6 separate regions of the Homo sapiens genome follow, and regions 1, 2, 3, 5 and 6 are each linked to region 4. Evidence: promoter capture Hi-C in 16 types of primary human blood cells and fetal thymus (Javierre and others, 2016). All regions are on one chromosome and are shown on one strand. The core of a region is centred on a gene start or on the middle of the fragment in contact, and the rest is flanking DNA. Distances in the headings are between cores, read along the strand shown. Region 1 holds the start of MIS18A (MIS18 kinetochore protein A). Region 2 overlaps TIAM1 (TIAM Rac1 associated GEF 1). Region 3 overlaps TIAM1 (TIAM Rac1 associated GEF 1). Region 4 holds the start of SOD1 (superoxide dismutase 1). Region 5 has its middle 61 kb from the start of KRTAP19-8. Region 6 overlaps CFAP298-TCP10L (CFAP298-TCP10L readthrough).

Evidence for each region. The method cuts DNA at HindIII sites, captures the fragments that hold promoters and counts their contacts. A CHiCAGO score of 5 or more calls a contact.
Region 1: a fragment that was not itself captured here is called in contact with the fragment with the promoter of SOD1 in region 4 in 4 of 17 cell types (M0 macrophages, total B cells, naive B cells and 1 more); the score reaches 5.8 in M0 macrophages.
Region 2: a contact is called between a fragment that was not itself captured here and the fragment with the promoter of SOD1 in region 4, in 10 of 17 cell types (activated CD4 T cells, non-activated CD4 T cells, naive CD4 T cells and 7 more). The highest score is 10.8, in activated CD4 T cells.
Region 3: a contact is called between a fragment that was not itself captured here and the fragment with the promoter of SOD1 in region 4, in 5 of 17 cell types (activated CD4 T cells, total CD4 T cells, naive CD4 T cells and 2 more). The highest score is 11.1, in activated CD4 T cells.
Region 5: a contact is called between a fragment that was not itself captured here and the fragment with the promoter of SOD1 in region 4, in 6 of 17 cell types (fetal thymus, activated CD4 T cells, non-activated CD4 T cells and 3 more). The highest score is 10.6, in fetal thymus.
Region 6: a contact is called between a fragment that was not itself captured here and the fragment with the promoter of SOD1 in region 4, in 1 of 17 cell types (total B cells). The highest score is 5.4, in total B cells.

The regions. Positions count from the first base shown.
Region 1 is chr21:32,278,305-32,281,048 of GRCh38, reverse strand. It overlaps MIS18A (MIS18 kinetochore protein A), which reads left to right and starts at 2,000. Exons shown (of 5, transcript NM_018944.3): 1 at 2,000-2,368. The coding sequence starts at 2,035. MIS18A-AS1 (MIS18A antisense RNA 1) reads right to left here and starts at 1,844. Exons shown (of 1, transcript NR_046576.1): 1 at 50-1,844. RefSeq lists enhancers at 1,587-1,806, 1,750-2,249, 2,250-2,744. The HindIII fragment of the contact is 886 bases long and covers 846-1,731 here.
Region 2 is chr21:31,118,057-31,120,756 of GRCh38, reverse strand. TIAM1 (TIAM Rac1 associated GEF 1) reads left to right here. Exons shown (of 28, transcript NM_001353694.2): 28 at 1-2,339. The coding sequence ends at 389. Among named protein-coding and RNA genes, the nearest start is that of KRTAP19-8, 81 kb to the right of the region's middle. The HindIII fragment of the contact is 1,420 bases long and covers 598-2,017 here.
Region 3 is chr21:31,135,611-31,138,310 of GRCh38, reverse strand. TIAM1 (TIAM Rac1 associated GEF 1) reads left to right here. Exons shown (of 28, transcript NM_001353694.2): 23 at 2,270-2,378. Among named protein-coding and RNA genes, the nearest start is that of KRTAP19-8, 98 kb to the right of the region's middle. RefSeq lists an enhancer at 1,195-1,244. The HindIII fragment of the contact is 1,924 bases long and covers 324-2,247 here.
Region 4 is chr21:31,658,275-31,660,974 of GRCh38, reverse strand. It overlaps SOD1 (superoxide dismutase 1), which reads right to left and starts at 1,282. Exons shown (of 5, transcript NM_000454.5): 1 at 1,134-1,282. The coding sequence starts at 1,205. It overlaps SOD1-DT (SOD1 divergent transcript), which reads left to right and starts at 951. Exons shown (of 3, transcript NR_187558.1): 1 at 951-1,578. RefSeq lists an enhancer at 440-639 and silencers at 800-1,079, 1,350-1,669. The HindIII fragment of the contact is 11,893 bases long and covers 1-2,700 here.
Region 5 is chr21:31,098,039-31,100,844 of GRCh38, reverse strand. No RefSeq gene overlaps it. Among named protein-coding and RNA genes, the nearest start is that of KRTAP19-8, 61 kb to the right of the region's middle. The HindIII fragment of the contact is 333 bases long and covers 1,254-1,586 here.
Region 6 is chr21:32,603,058-32,605,757 of GRCh38, reverse strand. It overlaps CFAP298-TCP10L (CFAP298-TCP10L readthrough), which reads left to right. Exons shown (of 12, transcript NR_146639.2): 4 at 1,475-1,633; 5 at 2,466-2,597. It overlaps CFAP298 (cilia and flagella associated protein 298), which reads left to right. Exons shown (of 7, transcript NM_021254.4): 4 at 1,475-1,633; 5 at 2,466-2,597. Among named protein-coding and RNA genes, the nearest start is that of CFAP298, 8.0 kb to the left of the region's middle. RefSeq lists a silencer at 985-1,279. The HindIII fragment of the contact is 2,383 bases long and covers 160-2,542 here.

The DNA of each region.
Region 1 (2,744 bases), core at 39-2,538, 620 kb before region 4:
TTTCAATTTTTTTAATCAAGAGCAATAAATGAACTTACAGGTCTAAAAATGTTTTATGATATCATTTTAATATAATCATCTTCATAGCAATGTGACTATAAAATGAAATTTTTATTAACTGTTTTATGGAGAGAAAGGCCTACTAAGGCAAAAATAGGGCCCCTGAAAGTCACCACGCAGCTCGGCCTTGTATTCCTTCTTTCCTGGGGCATCCTATCATAGAATTTAAGTATTGACAATAGGAACCCAAAGTCTGAGACAAGATGATCCTTTGAATCCCCAAGTAACTAGCCACTTACTTAAAGAACTCATGTGGATTGTATCAATGTTGTACCAGAGATATTATGCTTGAAAACAACAGTCCAGGAAGGTCAGGCTTGGCTCTACAAAAGTAGAAGGGGCAAAGTATGGTGAGGCATGCCTGTAGTTCCAGCTACTTGGGAGGCTGAGGCAGGAGGATCGCTTGAGGCCAGGAGTTCGAGACCAGCCTGGGCAACATACTGAAACATCATCTCTGAAAAAATAAAGAAAAGAAAAAAAAAAGCAGAAGGAAGGAAGGGAATTCTATGGGTAAAAAAAAAAAGCCTAAATTATCTAAAGCATTTTCTTCCAGTAAGAAGGTGATTAACATGAGCATGGTGTGCCAGGGTTTACAAAGTATTTTCATGAATATTAGAAAACTCGATCCTCATGAACAACTTGGTGTAGTACTGAAGAAACAGACTCCATTTACTCCATGAAGAATTAGACTCAGGGAAGGCAAACAGCCTTTTCCACAGTTCCCTACACTGTTACTACCTTGTGGAGGGAGGGGTAAGTTAACCAGGACCACTGACTCCAAAGCTTTTGCTTTTTGCTAGTGGCTGTAAGCACTAAAATTGGAAGTACATTTACATAAATAGTTTATGCAACCAAGCAAAATAGGCAGTGACTTGGGGGACACCCAGAGCGTAGTAGGAACAGAGTAGGTCCTTGCAGGTAGCTTTCTTCCCAGGTATACCACCAGACTGTCTGTGGTGCAGCTGGCTGGTTCCCCGCCAGCTTTCCCTCCTGACCTACGGTGTTTTAGGCAGAGGCTGGCTTTCTGGGGCAGCTGAGGAAATCTGTCCTTATCATCAACAAGGGATGCTTCTTCCTTGCAAGGACGAATTGTTCCTTGATCCAAGCAGCAGGGACACTTCCAGGCTTTCCAGGGGCACTGCTGCTTCCTCAACTTTTTCCTTGCAGTGACAGCCTGAGTGATCCGGGGCCCTTCCCAGGGTCTCATTCCAGGGATAGCAGTGCGCAAAAGGACCCTGTGATGAGGGACTCCTCTATCCCCTTCCTTCTCCACTTCATGGAAAGGAGGTCCCCAGGAGCCGACAAAATAGAGCAGTGGTCATCAAAAGTGGAGCTGCTTATATACAACTATAATTAGTCCACTTACAAAAAAGAAGAAAAAGGGTGGTGGTCTGGCACAGTGGCTTACGCTTGCGATCCTGGCATTTTGGGAGGCCGAGTAGGGAAGATCGCTTAAGGCTAGGAGTTCGAGACCGGCAACATAGAAAAACTCCCCCCCCCACCCCCCAAAAAAGGTTGGGCTGCCAATACTGACAGCGTGGGCACGCCTAGGAGCTTGTTAGAAATGCAGATTCTCGGGCTAACCTGCTACCTGCTGAACCAGAGTCTGCGAAGATGGAACCTGGCGATCTGCTTAAGAAGCTCGCCAGGCGGTTCTTAGACACTCAAGCTTGCAACCCGTAACTTTCTCAGTGACGCTGCCCCTCCCACGGAAAGGGGTGAATAATCCTTAGGAAGACAAGCAAACAGGTCTGCATCATCAATTTCTTCAGGCTGGAAAACCTGACGCAGGCGCAGTGACTATCACGCTTGGCCAAGGCCGCACGGCGCGCATGCGCACTAGAGGCCGCCCGCCGTCCCGCCCCCTTCAGGCTTTTGCCCCTTCTCGGCCTCCGCCACCGCTCCCCGCCCCGCGCATGAGCAGCGGCGGTTTTTTTTCCCATGGCGCTCTGGGGCGCGGGCGATTTGTAGGTAATGGCAGGCGTTCGGTCACTGAGGTGTAGCAGAGGATGCGCTGGCGGCTGTGAGTGCGGCGACAAGGGCAAATGCAGCGACTCCTCGCTGTTGGGCAAGAGACTCTCCGAAGACTCGAGCCGCCACCAGCTGTTGCAGAAGTGGGCGAGCATGTGGAGCTCCATGAGCGAAGACGCGTCGGTGGCCGACATGGAGAGGGCGCAGCTGGAGGAGGAGGCGGCGGCTGCGGAGGAGAGGCCGCTGGTGTTCCTGTGCTCCGGCTGCCGGCGGCCGCTGGGCGACTCGCTGAGCTGGGTGGCCAGCCAGGAGGACACCAACTGCATCCTGCTTCGCTGTCAGTTGGGTCGAGCCGGGCAGGGGGGGCGTGGGGTCGCCTTCTTCCAGGGGTGCCGCGCGTGGGCGGCCCGGGAGGAGGCGGGGGCTCCTTGGGGCTGCCCAGGGACTTTAAGAGCAAAAAGTCTGAGAGTGTGAGCTGTGGCAGGAAAAGGGGAGGAGGGTCACCCCTCCACTTTGGCTCTCGGGCGGTGGGTTCTTTTCTGGGGTCCCCGATCCCAGAAGAGCAGTGGTTGAATCAGCATCATCGTGAGCATTACTCAGAAACAAAGGGCGACAAAGAATAACACTTTTAAAGACCCTAAAAAAAGAGAAACAAATGGTCAACTAGACTGTAAGCACTTGAGGTGCAGCCAGTACTATTACTCCCCATAGAA
Region 2 (2,700 bases), core at 58-2,557, 540 kb after region 4:
CCGCAAGCAGCCCGGAGAAAGAGTCCCAGCAGCCCCCCGGTGGTGGGGACACTGACCGATGGGTAGAGGAGCAGTTTGATCTTGCTCAGTATGAGGAGCAAGATGACATCAAGGAGACAGACATCCTCAGTGACGATGATGAGTTCTGTGAGTCCGTGAAGGGTGCCTCAGTGGACAGAGACCTGCAGGAGCGGCTTCAGGCCACCTCCATCAGTCAGCGGGAAAGAGGCCGGAAAACCCTGGATAGTCACGCGTCCCGCATGGCACAGCTCAAGAAGCAAGCTGCCCTGTCGGGGATCAATGGAGGCCTGGAGAGCGCAAGCGAGGAAGTCATTTGGGTTAGGCGTGAAGACTTTGCCCCCTCCAGGAAACTGAACACTGAGATCTGACTGCGTCACCTGCCCCGTAGAGAATGTGTGTAGATACTTCCTGCCCTAACTCTGCCCACCCTCCTGTACCGTCGACAAGAATGTCCCCTTAGGTCGCGCTCTTGCACACACGGTTTTGGCAGCTGACTTGGTTCTGAAGCCATGTAGCCACCCAACTTTGTCATTTTCAACAACATCAGAAAGAATTGATCAGAATCCCAAATAAGCTTGAGTCCTATCTTCTGTATATTACTAAGGGCTTTTATTTATTCTCAATAAATCAGGGCCTGAACAATTAAAAGAAAAAAGATTCTATAGCACTGGAAAGCAAATCACCCCAGGAGTTAACGGATGTACAACAGATTAATTTAAGGGATAGTAGCACACACACGATCCTTCTATCTGAAATCAGTCTCCTAGCTGGGGAAACCTCTTTCACACACAAAATGAAATGTGTACAGCTTGCCGTGTTCTGACTGTACCCTTCCCTCTTCCATGTCTGAGAATCTCCGTGTATTTTAAGAATGTGTGAGGAGAGGGTGGCGATTCATGTTTCAATGAGCCTCTTTTTTTTTTTCCTTCCTGTTTTGGTCTATGGCTGGTCTTACTCTGTGTCCATGTTCGGAAGCTCTAGTTTTGCATAGAATTATAGAGATGCCAAACTCTTTGAAAAGAGATCCAAATTTATCGCTTGAGAGAAAGAAAAGAAACACTATTTTTTGTATTTTACCTGAGATACAGGGGCACAAATAGATGAGAATTTTACAGTGTTAGTGTATGTATCCCTGAGCCTAAAAAATGAGGATATAACCTTTTACAGAGAGAGTGAGGCGTGGTGGTTTTATATTTATATATGAAAGGCCAGCAAGCTCATGCGAAGGATATACTTTTCTTCCAAAAAGCGGATTTTTTTTTTTTAATGTTTGAATCTATATTTGAGATGGGAGTTTGGTTGGATTAAACATGACACCCCGGTGGGCGGTGTGTGTGTCTGTTGCACATGGCAGGGAGGGGAGCCTCCTTCTCATGGGGTTGCCATGGTGATCATTGGTTTTTCCATCAAAATTGCATCTTCATCCATAGATTACCTTCCCCTTCCCTGACAGTCCATAACCAAACCTTTAAACAGAACAACCTCTTTAAAAACTTCTCTTGTGTTTAACACTTTCTTCATGCCAACGAAACAGGGTAAACATGCTCAAAACATTAACAGTCTAAACAGATATCCAAATACTAAGAAGAAAAACAAGTTATAGCACTTTCAATTTTTTTTTTTTTTTTAAAAAAAGGTTTATAGCTTTTTCTTTTCCCATGTCACAATGTCCACTTCCTAAGAAGGGTTTAAAATACTATGAAAACTTTCTTTTTGGGGAAAATATCTATTTGGTGTTTGACACATCAGTAGGTACTTTAAAGACCTGAATTTTATAGTAGCTTTAGGAGTTATATTTTATAAAAATCAGTTATGACTTTATATTTCCAGACAATAGAGAGTTCAGTACATCATGCTCTTGTGCCTCTGCCTGCTTTTCCTGCGTTCCCACCCTGTATTCCCCCCGCCTTTCGGGTTTCCAGGGCTTCGAGCTTGATCTTTTGAAAGTTTTATTCTATTAAATTTTTGCTATATCTTCTGGTTTTCTGAAAAAGCTTTAGAATGGTTTCTATACCCTTTGTATCACTGCATTTTTCCATATCATCTCCGGTTCGATCGCGTCCAGATGGAAAACGGAAGCAGAGGCTTCTAATCGTCGCATTTACTGGCTCCAGTGCAACACATCCATCTGAAAACACTCGGAAGTCTGGTGCTTGGAGAGGGTGCCATTGTCTCTTGTACATAAGGTCATGACGTGTCTATGTCAAAAGTTCTTATATATTTCTTTTATAAGCTGAAAGAAGGTCTATTTTTATGTTTTTAGGTCTATGAATGGAACGTTGTAAATGCTTGTCAAACAATAAAAATAACGAAAAGTGTCTGGGCGGTTCTATGCCTTTTTGGATGGGAGGATGAGTATGAATTGTTGGCGGGAGAGCGGCCGTGGGAGAAGATTCCTGGGAATGCCATTTATTGAAATAACTCGTGATCATCAGGAGAACGCTGTTGTAGCGCTTGAAGTTTTAACAACAACAAAAGGTGCATTACAGTTGCATGGCATCTTGACCTAACGTTGCCCCTACTGGGCACTGTTTCTTTTCCAGTCTCCTGCCTATCCCGATGGGAGCAGGCTGGGGGGGTTCCTGTGAAAATATTGGGGTGAAGTGCAGAGCTCTGACTGGCCTGACTGAGCTCTTGAATCACTCCACATTTTATCACCGGGGGCCTGCTGCCTGAGTC
Region 3 (2,700 bases), core at 36-2,535, 520 kb after region 4:
AAGCTGGCAAAGAAACAGCTTTTTGATGAAACTGGGCCTTCAACCTCCTACCCCCATGTTAAACTCTGGGGAGTTAGGCTAAGAAATCCCTTTTGCTTAACTAGGAGGAAGAAGAATGCAAGAGGGCATTTCCCCTTAAAAGAAGTCCTTAAAAATGCTGACTCAGTCGGGCATCCCAGTCCTTAGTAAGGTGGAGGCCTCCCAGCAGAACTCTTTCTTGGGGTTTGGGAGGAGGATTCAGAAGGGAACCAGTGGAAGCCCCAGAGAGAGGCTGTGGCCAGAGGGAGCACCCTGACCCCCTAGTCCACTTGCCCTGGGAAGCTTGTCCAGAGAAAAACCCTGTGCACAGGAACAGCATCAGCCCATTTTCAGTTGTGTAACAAATAACTGGAAATCTCAGTGGTTCTCTACAACAGATATTTATCTCGTATGTGGCTTTGTAGGTCAACCAAGGTTTGGTTTCTCTTGGTTAGCTCCAGTTCTGAAGGTTCTGGTGTGCTCCTTGTCTCTTCCTTCCAGGATCCAGGCTGAAGCAGCAATGGCTGTCTTGGGCAAGTCCTTCCCATGGCTGGAAGGTGGGCTCTAAGTCACATGCCTACACCCAAAGTCATCCGGGCGGCGATGTGTGTACCCTGCCTAGTCTAGTGGGAGGTGCTGGAAAATCACATGGCAGAAGGTGCAGATAATGTAATTCTGTTGGAAGAAGTAGAGTTTGGACAGTCTACCATGTTGGCCTTTAATCACTTTTAAAGACGTACTCCCAGGGGCTGTGGCCTCTGGGAATTTGTCTTTTGTATGTAACTCCTCCTCTTCTATGTGGGTCTTCGGGGGATAGGTAGTGGAGACTATGTCATTACCTTGGCTGATCATATCCTGGGGGTTTGGTTGATGAGTTACTTAATATCTATAGACAAAATAATATGGCTGCTTAAAAATTATTTTAACCCTTGATTGTACTAATGGTACTATAGCTTAGTAATAATGACAGTGATGATTATAATAATTTCAATCAAGGGAGGCAACAATACCTCTGTATCCTGTACTGCTGGAGCCACATCTCAGCACGGTAGCCTGTTTTGGTGGCTCGAGAAGGGCAATCCAAACTGCACTGTGTTCAGTGGCGGGTCGCCAGGTTGCTGCTGTATAGGAAACCCAGCTAGATTTGGAAGGAGGCCAGTGACTGCAGTGAGAAAAGCAGACGGGACTGTTGTGAGGCATAGACGTTGAACTTGCATCAGACTCTCTGGATCATCGTGTCTAGATGGCTCTGCAACCAGCACTTGTCTGTCGGAGACAGTTTAGCGTGTGACCGCTGGGGGTGAGCGACTAAACCTCATGGTCTCTTGGGATTCCAGCATTCACGCTGCCTGTGCCAATAGAGGAATCTTCAAACTCTTTATTGGCTTCTCTCTCCCTCATCTAAAGTGAAATAAAGTCGTCTTTGAAATGGATTGGAAGAAGAAATAATTTGCCTACATTTCCCAAAAGTGGATATTCACTGGTGGAAATGTCTGCAGTTATCTGGGGGTGGATCTTTGTCATGGACGGCCATTAGCATCTCCTTGGGAAACTGTCTCTGAACACAAAACATCTCCAGTTTTGTAGATCAGTTTTGACAGACTAACTGCATGTGAATTTCAGAGCCCCAGTTTGTACCTATTTGCCATCCTTTTCTGAAATTCTAGTAGACAAGCATGGAATAAATGGGGAAAAAAAAGATGAGCCTTTTCTCTCCCCTGTATTCCATGTGTTTCTTTGGGAATGGAGAGGATTTATTTTTCAATTAGGAGATTTCATATGAATTAAAGGATTTTTTTTTTCGTTAAAATTTCATTGTATTGTTCCTAGCTCAAACTTGGCTAGAACATAATGATACTATTATTTCCCATTGGAAAGGTTAACTGGATATTGTATCTTCAGCCTGTTTTGATGGGAGGTGGTGTTTATTGAGACAGTCACAAATCGAAAATATTTTTAAAAAATGTAGTCTGTCATTTTGGTGCGATTTCTTTTCTCAAAAACATGAAATTGACAAGTAAAAATTTTATATATTTATGGTGTACAACATGATGTTTTGATATGTTACATTGTGGAATGGCTAAATCCAGCAGTTTAACTTAGCATTATCTCACATATTTAAGCAAATGTTTTTAGGAGCAGTATTTTCTTGAAGTAAAATTAATATCAGCATGCTGAATTTTCAAACATCATGAAAATCTGAGTATTGATAACACCACCCAGTAAGCTTTGTCACGTCTCTGGCTTTCAGGTTGCAGATCTGAGCATGGGAGACCTGCTTTTGCACACTACCGTGATCTGGCTGAACCCGCCGGCCTCGCTGGGCAAGTGGAAAAAGGAACCAGAGTTGGCAGCATTCGGTGTGTATCAGAAAAGCGTTTTATGGAGGGGGAAAAGTCTAGCTTAGTTTTCAAAACAAGAACATTTCTTTTTCAAGACCCAATTGATTAAAAATAAAGTTAATTGCAGTTACTTGAATCGGTCTTCCTGCCGTAGCCACCAACATCTCACAAACACTAAATGAAACCTTCGAGTTAAATTGCCCTATGTGGTCACTCAGCCACATGGGTGGGCGGAAATGGCTGTGCCCAAGTCTATCCCAGACATAAACACAGAGGCAGGAAAAGAATTTTTTTTTTTTTGGCTGCTGCTCTGCGTGTCTTTTCAAAATAATGGGTTAAT
Region 4 (2,700 bases), core at 33-2,532:
TATTTTACAAGAGTCGTTCAGAAGTTTGTCTCTGACCATCTTAGCAACCTGCCTACTGGCAGAGCAATTTTAAAGCCACTTTACGAAAATGTGGCTTAAGAAATGCTCCGACAACAGTTATTAAGTGCCAATTCGGTGTAATGGAAACTCCAGGTCTTCTAATTTCCAAATACGAAACTCCACCCACTGTCCTCAAACGACAGTTCTCAATCGTAGGTGCACATCAAAATCACTTTTGGAAACTTTCAAAAAACAGCAATACTCACCCTGCACTAGGACAGGTTTTGATGTAATTGGTCGGAGGTTGGGCTCTGGTGTATTTTTAGTAAGATCTTCAAATAAGCTAACTGTGCACCCAAAGTTAAGATCACTGCCCTCAAAAATCCCCAAAAGGGTCAGTTAAACCTCTGGCTCCCGGAGCTTAGGAGGAGGAAAAGGACCTCTGTTCAAGGCTACCTTCTCTGCCCTTGCAGCCCAATCATGACCTAGAACAGAGGCCAGCAAACTTCCCTGCAAAGTGTCACACAAACGGTCTCTGTTGCGTATTTTTGTTTTCCAAAGCCTTTTAAAAATATAAAAACCATTCCTAGCCTTAGAGCTGTACAAAAGCGAAGACTCCCTGACCTAGAGCGCTGAAGCCGGAAAGCGGAGAGGGATGCGAAGACACCAGGCGGGCCCAGGCGCAGTCGCCATCCCCGGGCTGGGCCTGGCACTGCGCCACTCGGTGTCCGCGGGACCCTCAGGAACGAGAACACGGCCAAGCAAGGGACGAGCACAGCCGCTCCAGGCACCACGACAGACCCGCGGCGGCGGCCCAAGGACCACAGAGGGCAGCACGCCCGCCCCCGCCCCTCCCCGGCCCGCGGCAATCCCTCCCCGCGCTCCCGCCACGCGCAGGCCCAGCCCCGCGGCGGCCTCGGTCCCACGCCCCGCGCCCGGGCCCGCCCGGTGACTCAGCACTTGGGCACCGCACCGCTGGGGGCGAAGGCACCGACCGGGCGGCACGGGCCGGGACCGGGCGCTGGACCAGGGCGGCCCCGAGGCCTGGCGGGCGACCCGCTCCTAGCAAAGGTGCGCGGGGGGACGAGCGGGTGGGAGCGGCCTCGCAAACAAGCCTCCGTCCCAGCCCTTGCCTTCTGCTCGAAATTGATGATGCCCTGCACTGGGCCGTCGCCCTTCAGCACGCACACGGCCTTCGTCGCCATAACTCGCTAGGCCACGCCGAGGTCCTGGTTCCGAGGACTGCAACGGAAACCCCAGACGCTGCAGGAGACTACGACGCAAACCAGCACCCCGTCTCCGCGACTACTTTATAGGCCAGACCTCCGCGCCTCGCCCACTCTGGCCCCAAACCAATCGCCTCGCACGCGCTCAGCCCGCCCCCTGCGGCAGCCTCGGGTCGCGAGTGGCCGGGAATGACTGGGGGCGGGGCCAAGGGGCCGCGTGCGCCGGAGACTCCCCCCGCCCCGCAGCCGGGAAACGTCCAGAACCCCGAAATGTGGAGAAAACAACCTTCTTTTCACGGGGGCGTGGCCCGCCGGTTGCAGTACGCGAAATTGGCAAAATGATGTAAACAGGGTACGCTTTGAAAATCTGAAGTCACTTTGTCTAGAAATGTCATTAGTTATGACTGAGTTTGGCCACAGCGTCTCATTTGTTACTCAGCAATTGGGACGCCCCAAGATGGATGCTTTTGTAGTTTTCATTTTTTTGTCTTGTTTTTTAGTTTTCTGAGGGTATAGAAAGTCGCTACACCTCAATCCCGGGACTTACCTTTTCTTCCCCTGCAATTTTCTTAGTCCTTAGTATAGAGTTTCTTATTTGGTTGGCAGAATTCGGTATTCTTTTTATATTTTTCCTGTTTGGCAAGGCCACAACCCTACAGATAACCAAACGGCAACTAGTTGGCTTCTAGGCATCACCTGCGTTTTTGTCTGGCCTAAAGGCCACAACACTCAAGGAGGGTAGAATGGTGAAATAATTTATGATGCCTCCATACAACAGGAATGATAAATATGACTTACCTTTCAAGGGAAATATTTCAAAAACATATTGTGAAATGAGAAAATAGTGCAAACTACTTTTGTCCGGGGCGAGGGGGTTGTTTGTTTGATTTTTGAGACAGGGTCTCGCTCTGTCACCCAGGCTGGAGTGCAGTGGCGCCATCATAGCTCACTGCAGCCTCCACCTCCTGGGTTCAAGCCATCCTCCTGCCTCAGCCTCCCAAGTACCTGGGACCACAGGCATGTGCCACCACACCTGGCTGATTTTTGTATTTTGGGTACAGATGGGGTTTTACCATGTTGCCCAGGCTGGTTTCAAACTCCTGAGCTCAAGCCAGCCATCTACCCACCTCGGCCTCCCAAAGTGCTGGGATTACAGACATGAGCCACCACGTCCAGCCTAGTACTTAATATTGAGTATGGCAAAATACTGAGACTTAATTGAAGTCCAGTGTGAAACAACAATAGAAGCTATTCCAGCCTCGTTTGGAGTACACTACTATCGATTTATTTACTTATTTATTATTTACGCTATTTAGACCCTCAGACTCTAATGCATCCTCTATCAGAGAAATACAATTCACATTTTTTTATCATCCTCTAGGAAGTATACATATTTGCAGTTTTGCCTGTTGTATTTGGTAGTAGTCTCCAGATAATTCGTATATTCTAAACGGTTGCATAAACAGTGCAAATG
Region 5 (2,806 bases), core at 171-2,670, 560 kb after region 4:
GTTTGCCTCTACATAACCATTGCTAACATTTGGGTATTGCTCCTATATTTTCATATGTATACACGTGTCTAACTTATACACATATATAAATGCATATTTAAATAGAATCATATTGTACCTTATTGTACTATCTGCCTTCATTTATTATCCATCATGAGTAGTTCCCCTTATCATTAAGCATCTTCCTATAACATACTTTTTAATGGTTACAAAGATTCCCTTTGGGATGACACACCAAATGATAGAGTTTGGACGTGTGCCCCCTCCAAATCTCATGTTGAAATGTGATTCTCAGTACTGGAGGTGAGGCCTGGTGGGGGTGATTTGATCACGGGGGCAGGTCTCTCGTGAATGGCTTCGCACCATCCCCAGGTGATAAGTGAGTTCTTGCTCGGTGAGTTCACGTGAGACCTGGTTGTATAAAAGTCTGGAACCTCCCGGCAACCCTGGATCTTGCCATGTGACATCACCTTCTCTCCCTTCGCCATCTGCCATGATTAGAAGCTTCCTGAGGCCTCACCAGAGGCAGACGCTGGAGCCATGCTTGTACAACCTGCAGAACCATGAGCCAATTAAACCTCTTTTATTATAAATTACCAGCCTCAAGTATTCCTTTTCTTTTTCTTTTTTGTTTTTGTTTTTTGAGACAGAGTCTCACTCTGTCACCCAGGCTGGAGTGCAGTAGCATGATCTCGGCTCACTGCAACCTCTGCCTTCTGGGTTCAAGCGATTCTTCTGCCTCAGCCTGCCAAGTAGCTAGGACTATAGGTATGCGCCACATGCCCAGCTAATTTTTGTATTTTTAGTAGAGACAGGGTTTCACCATATTGGCCAGGCTGGTCTTGAACTCCTGACCTCGTGATCCGCCCACCTTGGCCTCCCAAAATGCTGGGATTACAGGTGTGGGCCACTGAGCCTGGCCAAGATATTCCTTTATAGCAATGCAAAAACAGACTAACACGCTATAGGTCCTCAAATACTTGCTAACAAAGGGAGGGTCTCAACTTGATATTTGATAATGTTGGATATTTAGATCATTTACATTTTAGCTATTGTAAATAAAACACTGTGATGTGAACGTTACCTTGAAAACAATGACACCCTTGTATAATTATATTATCAACAGTAAAATTAATCACACCTTTAAAATAATTCCACCTGGAGATTGCATTTGTATTATACACTTCAGAACATGTACCTATACATGTATCTGGTCCTCCCAAACCCTGTCAGATGAATTGGGCGGATAAGCTTATCTTTTCTCACCATCTTAGAGGTGAGGGAGGAAGGTGTGGCTCACACCACAAACAGCAGCTTTTGTGTTTCGTGTTCATGACCGGGATTAGACCGCACACAGAGGGAAAGACTGGAAGACCGTGCATTTCCAAGCCAGACAGTTTATCGATTAGCTATCATAACAGGACTGTATGCTAGAAATCCAAGGAGCAAGATGCCACTCTGCTTCTCGTAGTAAGGATAACAGAGCAAGCTCGCCACGCATCAAGGGCTTTTTGCCGACCCAGCTTTGAGGGTATGACGTGTACCCCCGTGCTCCCTGCTGGAGACCTGTAGGATCGTCTCAAGCTTTTTTGGCAATGTCCACAAAGGAGTTAAATCTGACTTAGCAACCAGGCTGTGAGTTTCCGGGGTCCAGGAGTGGGAGATGAGCAGGAACCCGTCCCAAGCAGGAATCTGTCCCAAGTTCATCTTTTAGCTAAAGGGAGGGCTGTGGCCCCTCACGCTGCTCTGGGTTGGGAGCGGAGCATCGGTGTATTTAAGAGCATCCAGGTGATTGTAATGTGCCAGTTGGATCTAATTTACCTTGAAAATTCGTGCATTTAACGAACAGGTTCTGGCAGTGAAGAGCCGGAGAATGATTTTTGTCTTGATAAAGAAATAAAGGGGATAAATAGAATGTTGGCTGCGGTTGCTGCTTATCGAACGTTTTTCCCAGATCTAAGGGTTTGCCCGAGTAGGAAGGATGCGGAAGGATGCGGAAGGATGGCGTTCCACCTTATTTCCACCTCCCTCACAGCATCCCGCCTGGTACCGTGCCTGGCTGGTTCGGGGCACTTTCAGCGCGGTCCTGTGCGAGGACGTTTCTCTGGTGCCCTCTCGCGGTGGATCAGCAAAGTGCCGCATTTTATTTAGAACCAGAATGGACGTAGAAGGACCCTTGGACGTCATATTTTGTAACCCTCTCATTTTACAGATGAGGAACCGAGGCCTAGAGCAGTGAAGCGGTTTGCCCAGGCTCACATGCCTAGTAATTAGGTTAAGTGGGGTTTGGCTGGGGACAGTGTTTAGGAATAGGAGAGGGTAACTCAGATCCCTGGAGTTCGATAGCCTGAACAAAGGCTTGGGAAATGAGAATCAGCTGGTGATGGATGGAATTAGAACAGATGCTGGGTGCCACACACAAGGCCACGGGTGATTGCTGCTGCCACCACTGGAGCCTCAGAACCTGAAAATTTACAAAGCCCCTCAAGGCCAATATGTCCCAAACTGAACTTATCATTTCCACCTTCACTTTATCTTCTTCCGTCATCTCAGTAAATGGCCTCACCTTCTCTCAGGTTGCTCAGGCTGGAAAACTAGTCATCTCTCTCTGTAGTCCACATCCAATCCATCACTGAGTCCTGCTTCCTGTAAAATTTAGGCCGGGTGCAGTAGCTCACGCCTGTAATCCCAGCAATTTGGGAGACTGAGGAGGGCGGATCACTTGAGGTCAGGAGTTCGAGACCAGCCTGGCCAACACGGCAAAACCCCATTTCTACTAAAATACAAAAATTAGCTAGGCGTGATG
Region 6 (2,700 bases), core at 102-2,601, 940 kb before region 4:
TCACCAACAAGACTCCTCTTATTTCAGACACCAGCTGCACGTGAGGTCCCCAGGCCACCCATACTTGTGTCCAGCTTGACTACAAATTTGGAGCTTCCCACAACGCCCCCACTGATGTGTGTCACCCGGCACATCAACGTCTTCACCAATCAGGAAGCTTCACTGAGCCATGATGTCTGGGATTTTTATAGCGTTTTTGTTCAGTAGGCATGATGGCTTAAACCACTGGCCACGTGTTTGATCCCAACCTCTAGCGCCTGGAGGTGGAGGAAGGGAGTGAGGCCGAAAGCTCCAACCCTCTAATTATGTGCTTGGTCTCCCAGGCACGGCCAGCCCCTTCCTTGAAACCCAGCGCGGACTACAGGTTACTGTATTAGCACAAGCTCAGGTATGGTGAGAAGGGGCTCGTTATAAATAACAAGACACTCCTGTCACTCAGGAAATTCCAAGAGTTTTGGAGCTCTGTGCCTGGAACTGAGTAGCAAAGACCAGATATATTTGTTATTTCATCACACCTTCCTCTGTACTCTTCAGAGCCTGCTACCTGGTCTCCCTCCAACTAGGTCTGTTCTTTTTTTTGAGGCAGAGTCTTATTCTGTTGCCCAAGCTGGAGTGCAGTGGCACGATTTTGGCTTACTCCAACCTCTGCCTCCCAGGCTCAAGCAATTGTCCTGCCTCAGCCTGCTGAGTAGCTGGGACTACAGGCACCTGCCACCACGCCCAGCTAATTTTTGTATTTTTAGTAGAGACAGGGCTTTGCCATGTTGGCCAGGCTGGTCTCGAACTGCTGACCTCAGGTGATTTGCCCACCTCGGCCTCCCAAAGTGCTGGGATTACATAAGGTGTGAGCCACCACATCTGGCCAACTAGGTCTGTTCTATATCAGCTACAAGATAAATCTCTCAACATTACCACTCCTTCCCAGAAAAGGCAGTCGCTTCCCGTGGCCTAACAGAGGAAAGGTGAACTCTTCAGCCTGGCTTTTGTGGCCATTCAAAAACAAACTTCAGCTGATCCAGCTAGAGCTGGCCTCATCTTCTCTCCTTCCTGCCCCATGCTGAGGGGGCTGGCGCCTGCTTTTCTTTGTTTCAGCTTGTCCTGAAGCACCTGCTGCCATCTGTACCTTTTCAGCCCATCTGCATTTCGAGGCCCACCTGCGGTGCCTGCTCCCCCTGCCGTATCTCCCGATCCTCACTGCCATCTGTGCTGCCAGCATTGGGCTCTTTCTCCTTTGAGAATTCTTTGCACTTCATTGTACTCCATGCTCAGTGCTGCTCACCGTCTGCTTTATAATACAGGCCACGGTGTGCTTCGCTCAGCCCCTGAAATAGATGGTAGTCACTCTGGGAGCAAGAACTGTTTGATTTCTTTTTGTTGCTCTGGCAGTATCTGGCAAGGGTCTTGTACAAGATCTTGATCGAATTTATGGAAGTGATTAGCCACACTGTAGATAACGATGGCTTTCTGCTTGCAGAAACAAGTGGAAGCCGGTGTCTGTGTTACCATGGAGATGGTGAAAGATGCCTTGGACCAGCTTCGAGGCGCGGTGATGATTGTTTACCCCATGGGGTTGCCACCGTATGATCCCATCCGCATGGAGTTTGAAAATAAGGAAGACTTGTCGGGAACACAGGTACGTAGTTTGTGAGTGGGTACTCTGGAGGTTGAGTTCCTGGCCCCCAAAGCCCTTAAGATTTGATGCCCCTCTTCTGGATGTAGTGTTTTGCTCCCTACACAGCTTTCAGGTTTGCTATGCCCTGCTTCAGAGCAGAGTTCTGAATTCAGGAGCAGCCCCTGAGAGTGGGTACTCATGAGTGAGGGGTTTGGCCCCACACACAGGAGGCAGTGGACGCAGTTTGTGAGGCCGCTCATCAGGAGTGACTGCAAACATTTCCACTGTCTTTGGCTGCTAGGAAGCCAGCTACCTAATTTCTTCCTATTTCTACCCAAATGCGTCAGTCCCTTTGCATGGAAATTTGTGTTTCTAGTCTTACCTGTTGCTTCATGTTATTTTCTGACCCTCATGTTCCATTTTCCTTGGGTTTTCTCACTTCTTATCCTATTGGACAATATTCTTTGTCTAAGCCATGTTAAATAAATGAAATATGCAGAAGTAAACAGGCAGCCCCTTTATACCTCGATTTAAACACCCAGCACGATGCCAGTGCCCTTCCCTGGCAGTGGCCTACAGATCTGTCTAAGACGAACTATATGGATCAAGGTGCAAATGAGATAGGATCTCCCTGTTGTCCAGAGGAGGAAGTTAACTGAGTCAGGGCATGAGTGGAAACTTAACAGGGAAGGTACTAAAGTCAGCAAGGACTTAGAGTGAGGTGCGGGAGTCAGGCCTCCCATGGTGAGCACGGGGAGAAATCTGTCCCCTGCCCCCTGCTGGGAGGGGCTCAGCTGGGCTCTGCCCCCTGGGTGGGAACACACAGTCAAGCCATTCTTACGACTGGCCCCAGGCAGGGCTCAACGTCATTAAAGAGGCAGAGGCGCAGCTGTGGTGGGCAGCCAAGGAGCTGAGAAGAACGAAGAAGCTTTCAGACTACGTGGGGAAGAATGAAAAAACCAAAATTATCGCCAAGATTCAGCAAGTAAGTACTTTTTGCTTTAATGTGTCAGTAGTTTTTGTTATTTCCCTTCAAACTGATAAAAATGTACAGTGAATCCGAAAGATTTAAACTACTGGTACAAATA